2 separate regions of the Homo sapiens genome follow, and region 2 is linked to region 1. The links are contacts of gene promoters, found by promoter capture Hi-C in human tissues and cell types (Jung and others, 2019). All regions are on one chromosome and are shown on one strand. The core of a region is centred on a gene start or on the middle of the fragment in contact, and the rest is flanking DNA. Distances in the headings are between cores, read along the strand shown. Region 1 overlaps CLK3 (CDC like kinase 3). Region 2 holds the start of CYP1A2 (cytochrome P450 family 1 subfamily A member 2).

Region 1 (2,700 bases), core at 133-2,632:
CAGAGAAGCCCTTCAGACCCCTCCCCTACCCCTGGCTTCAGGCTTAGTCCGCAGATGACTCCTCCCTTGGCGGCCTGGAGTTTGATTCTGGCCCAGTCCGGCTTTCCCTCTGTCCCCGGGTCTCCCCTCGGCGCCACTGGTGGCGGTTACAGGGGATGGGACTCTGAGACCCCCTGGGACCTGGGGCGGCAGGAAGGGACGCGAACGAGGGCGCAGGCTCCCCTGTGTGTTTTGTTGTGGTGGTAGAGCCACTCCAGCCCGGAGGATGGGCTAGGCCAAGCTGACAGTTCAAATCCCCTGGCTGCTCCTCCGTCCCGCCCGGGAGTCTCTAGCTTTAGTTCCGGGTGTGGGTGCCCTGATGTGGAGCTGGGGTGGAAATTGCCTGAACCAGGCCCCCATCAGAGGCGGAGTTGGCGGCCTTCCAGCTTCCCTTCTTGATGCCCTTGAAAAGGAGGAGCGTTTCACCGTTGGTGGTGGAGGCTTGCGAGGTGGCAGGTTTGAGGTTGCAGTGGTAGGGCAGTCCAGCCAAAAATAACCATGGGTGCTGGGGTGGCTGGAATCCGGGAGGGCAGCCGCTGACCTGGCTGGCTGCACTTCTAGTCAGCCCAGTTCTCTGGCCAGGAACAGCAAATGAGAAGCCGACAAGGCCTGTGCTCAAAGTTGACATCCTTGGCTTGGTTTTCTTCATATCACCTTTTTCCTCATTGTGCAGAGCAGAGCTTCCCAAAGCATAATTGTGGCCTTTAGCTGCTTTTTAAACAAGCTGTTTGCTGAGGTTTTCGAGAATCAGAGATAATTGAGAAATGGGCCCTAGAGCCCTGGCTGGGAGGATGATATCTGCTATTTCCAATATTTTACTTGCCTAGAATGTGTTAAAGGAAGGATACTCTTCTCTGTTATTGCTTTGTGTGTGGTACCTTATAACTCTCATGCTTGTCATCTCTTTTGCCAGGCTGAGAGATGTTATCTCCATTTTCCAGGCATGCTAACCAAGGCCTAGAGTGACTTGTCTAAGGTCATGAGGCTGGTATGTGACAGCACTAGGATTTAGTTTAGTTTTCTGCCAGAGCTCTTGCCTCCCAGTTTCCTTGGAAGGGACTTATAAAATGTCTGTAAGGCATTTAACACAGCCCTGAAGTGTTACCTGGAACTTTCAGATGTTCATGAAAAGCTGCCACTAGTACCTCTGTGGGCACAAAGCTGTGCTAGGCATTTCACTTATAGGAGAGAGATATTTAATCCTCACAGAACCTTGTAAGAGATTACTATTCCCTTGTTGCAAGATGAAGCTGACGGTCAGAGTAGTGTAATAATTTGTTCAAAGGCACACAGCTAGAAGTGGCAAGCCATGATTCAGATTGACATCTATATGACTCTGAAATTTTGTTTTCCATTGATGTGAATATGTATGGACATAAGAATCTTCTAGGTCCCAGGAGGTAGTCTTTGGCGTGGTGTGACTGTGACTGTGTCCTCCAGCTCTGGTGTTTGTCTGCCCAGTGAGGATGGGCAGGACCATACTTGCCTTGTGGCACGACATGTGCCCTGGCCAATAGAGCATCTTCTGGGTCAATTAGTGGGGTGTGAGTTCCTGCTTTCATTCCATAGCTTGGGCACCTGACCCAGAGTAATTGCAGGAAAACAGTGAAATATTAGTCAGCTGATTACCAAAACAACAAATCTAAGCTTTTGGGGAGGTGATTTCACAAAATATTTATCTCCAAAGACTTCCCAGGTACACGGGGGAAGACAAGTTAGTGGGGAGATGGAGGGCTTTCTTAGGGACACGGAGAGGCTCCCAGGGGTTTGGTCACATAGGCCTCACTGTCCTGCTCAAGCATGGGGAGCTGTTCTATGCTGCTTTTCTCCTGACAGACCCTGCTGGTGAGATGGGGCAGCCTCAGTGGGTTTGTACAAAATGTGCTTGGCCAGGCAAGCTCAGGACTGACCATGACTGGAGGTTGGCTGTGGCCAAGTGTGAGTGTTGGGAAGAAGGCTGGCTCCATGGAGGCAGTCAGGGATTGACGTATGGGTGGAGCAGGTTGCTGGCCTCACATGGCCAGCTTTCTCCGCTGGTGGCAGATCCAGCCTGGCAATTTCATTTGGTGGATATAAGTCCTCACTGAACAGGGATAGTGAGGTGGGGCTCTTTTACCTGCCAGATGGCTAACCCTCTGGCTATCCTGGGATAGGCGGAGGGTAGGATACTAGAGCCAGAGAGCTAGAAGAAGGGACAGTAACGGTACTGTTGGATAAAGGCAAGGCACCTGGCAGGGCACTGTGGGGGTCTAAAAGGGTGCTAAATGGGCCTCTGGAAAGAAAGTTAGATGCGCTGGGTCCACGTCCCCTTGGGTTGACCCTCAGGAGGGCTATGGAATGTTTGTGAGGCCTGTGTGCCTCTTTCTCCAAGGGCTGCTCTTCTAGTCTCTTGTGGCTCCTCATGCTCACTTGTGGTCCTTACTCCCTTGAGTGGGGTCCAGTTCAGGGCCCTAGCCAGACAGCGTTCAGCTTCTCAAACTTGAGGGCTTTGAGCCCTCGCCTCCTGTGTACAGCCCTTTGCCTGGCCTTTGGCTTTACAGAGCATTCACTTCACGGGACCGCCCCCCCGGGCGGGAGGGAATAGAGTGCAGGAGGCTCCCCTTTCTCCTGCCTTTGATCTCCCTGTGGTAGTGTTCACCGTCCCCACCCAGGGTTACTGCC
Region 2 (2,700 bases), core at 146-2,645, 130 kb after region 1:
AAGTCCATGAATATCTGACATTTCTCATATCTACTTTCTCTCGATTTATTGATAGATAGGTATACATTGTTTTAATTTTATGGGTACATAGTAGGTGTATATATGTATGGGGTACATGAAATGTTTTGATACAGGCATGCAATATGAAATAAGCATTCATGGAGAATGGAGTATCCATCCCCTCAAGCAAGGATAAACCTTTGAGTTACAAACAATCCAATTACACTCTTTAAAGGTGTACATTTTTTTTTTTTTTGAGACGGAGTCTCACTCTGTCGCCCAGGCTGGAGTGGAGTGGCACGATCTTGGCTCACTGCAGCCTCCACCTCCCAAGTTCAAGCCATTCTCCTGCCTCAGCCTCCCGAGTAGCTGGGATCACAGGCACATGCCACCATGCCTGGCTAATTTTTGTATTTTTAGTAGAGACGGAGTTTCACCAGGTTGGCCAGGCTGGTCTTGAACACCTGATCTCAGGTGATCCGCCCATCTCGGCCTCTCAAAGTGCTGGGATTACAGGTGCGAGCCATCGCGCCTGGCCTAGAGGTGTACATTTTTTAACAGAACCATTCAAAAGGAGGTTGTGGGGATCATGACACTTCCATGCTACAGCATTAATCTCCTAAGAATAAGGATACACTCCCACATACCATGACACTCTGTTCACACCTAAAAAAATTTACATTTATTCCAGAATATCATCTAATCTCCAGTCCGTGCTTACATGTCCCCAATTGTCCCCAAAACATCTTTTATAGATTTTTTTAAAATTTTGTTTAAATGCCATATCCAATCGATATGGCAATCAAATGCAAATCCATATTGCATTTGGTTATGTCTCTTAGTCTTTTTGCATAAGGGGGGCCTCTCTTTAGGATGCAAAATCTTTATCATCTCTTCTTTTCCACTTGGGGACTTGGGCTGAAAATCAGGAGTGGCTGGAACACGCCCATTTACTGTTTGGTTTTGCAGGTTGTTGGAGGGTACTACAGAAGAACATCCCTCTGGAGAGGGGCCGTGAGCCTGGTTGGCCTAGACTGAGTGCCCTGGCAGAGCTCTTCCTCATGTGTGCAGTGGGAAAGAAGCCCAGATCAGTCCAAAGGCCTAACCCCCACTCCCAGACCCTACCCTACTCTTCAGAGAAATAGGCTCCCTACCCTGAACCCTAAAGACAGCTGTACCTTCATCCCCAGGGACCCAGCACCCCTTCTGGCCTATCCCCAAAGAGTCACCCTGGGTCTTAGGTAGTAGGTGGAGCTGAGGGATAATGGCCCAAGGCCAAGAGTTGATCCTTCCAACTTTGTTCAGTGATCCAGCTTTCATATCAGGTGATCAGGACAACCAGGCCAATCTGATAGGGGGCGGTGTTTATAAAAAGGCCACTCACCTAGAGCCAGAAGCTCCACACCAGCCATTACAACCCTGCCAATCTCAAGCACCTGCCTCTACAGGTACCTTTCTTGGGACCAATTTACAATCTCTGGGATCCCCAACTATAGAACCTGGAAGCTAGTGGGGACAGAAAGACGGGGAGCCTGGGCTAGGTGTAGGGGTCCTGAGTTCCGGGCTTTGCTACCCAGCTCTTGACTTCTGTTTCCCGATTTTAAATGAGCAGTTTGGACTAAGCCATTTTTAAGGAGAGCGATGGGGAGGGCTTCCCCCTTAGCACAAGGGCAGCCCTGGCCCTGGCTGAAGCCCAACCCCAACCTCCAAGACTGTGAGAGGATGGGGACTCATCCCTGGAGGAGGTGCCCCTCCTGGTATTGATAAAGAATGCCCTGGGGAGGGGGCATCACAGGCTATTTGAACCAGCCCTGGGACCTTGGCCACCTCAGTGTCACTGGGTAGGGGGAACTCCTGGTCCCTTGGGTATATGGAAGGTATCAGCAGAAAGCCAGCACTGGCAGGGACTCTTTGGTACAATACCCAGCATGCATGCTGTGCCAGGGGCTGACAAGGGTGCTGTCCTTGGCTTCCCCATTTTGGAGTGGTCACTTGCCTCTACTCCAGCCCCAGAAGTGGAAACTGAGATGATGTGTGGAGGAGAGAGCCAGCGTTCATGTTGGGAATCTTGAGGCTCCTTTCCAGCTCTCAGATTCTGTGATGCTCAAAGGGTGAGCTCTGTGGGCCCAGGACGCATGGTAGATGGAGCTTAGTCTTTCTGGTATCCAGCTGGGAGCCAAGCACAGAACACGCATCAGTGTTTATCAAATGACTGAGGAAATGAATGAATGAATGTCTCCATCTCAACCCTCAGCCTGGTCCCTCCTTTTTTCCCTGCAGTTGGTACAGATGGCATTGTCCCAGTCTGTTCCCTTCTCGGCCACAGAGCTTCTCCTGGCCTCTGCCATCTTCTGCCTGGTATTCTGGGTGCTCAAGGGTTTGAGGCCTCGGGTCCCCAAAGGCCTGAAAAGTCCACCAGAGCCATGGGGCTGGCCCTTGCTCGGGCATGTGCTGACCCTGGGGAAGAACCCGCACCTGGCACTGTCAAGGATGAGCCAGCGCTACGGGGACGTCCTGCAGATCCGCATTGGCTCCACGCCCGTGCTGGTGCTGAGCCGCCTGGACACCATCCGGCAGGCCCTGGTGCGGCAGGGCGACGATTTCAAGGGCCGGCCTGACCTCTACACCTCCACCCTCATCACTGATGGCCAGAGCTTGACCTTCAGCACAGACTCTGGACCGGTGTGGGCTGCCCGCCGG

What was found. The method cuts DNA at HindIII sites, captures the fragments that hold promoters and counts their contacts. A contact is called where the count stands out against the background at its distance.
Region 2: a contact is called between the fragment with the promoter of CYP1A2 here and a fragment that was not itself captured in region 1, in 4 of the 25 tissues and cell types used here (lymphoblastoid cells, mesendoderm cells, spleen and 1 more).

The regions. Positions count from the first base shown.
Region 1 is chr15:74,616,207-74,618,906 of GRCh38, forward strand. The region is part of intron 1 of CLK3 (CDC like kinase 3); the gene reads left to right. Among named protein-coding and RNA genes, the nearest start is that of CLK3, 1.7 kb to the left of the region's middle. RefSeq lists enhancers at 1-384, 385-995. The HindIII fragment of the contact is 8,305 bases long and covers 1-2,700 here.
Region 2 is chr15:74,747,450-74,750,149 of GRCh38, forward strand. CYP1A2 (cytochrome P450 family 1 subfamily A member 2) reads left to right here and starts at 1,396. Exons shown (of 7, transcript NM_000761.5): 1 at 1,396-1,448; 2 at 2,281-2,700. The coding sequence starts at 2,290. RefSeq lists a cis regulatory region at 1-65 and promoters at 1-1,486, 1,152-2,289. The HindIII fragment of the contact is 12,167 bases long and covers 1-2,700 here.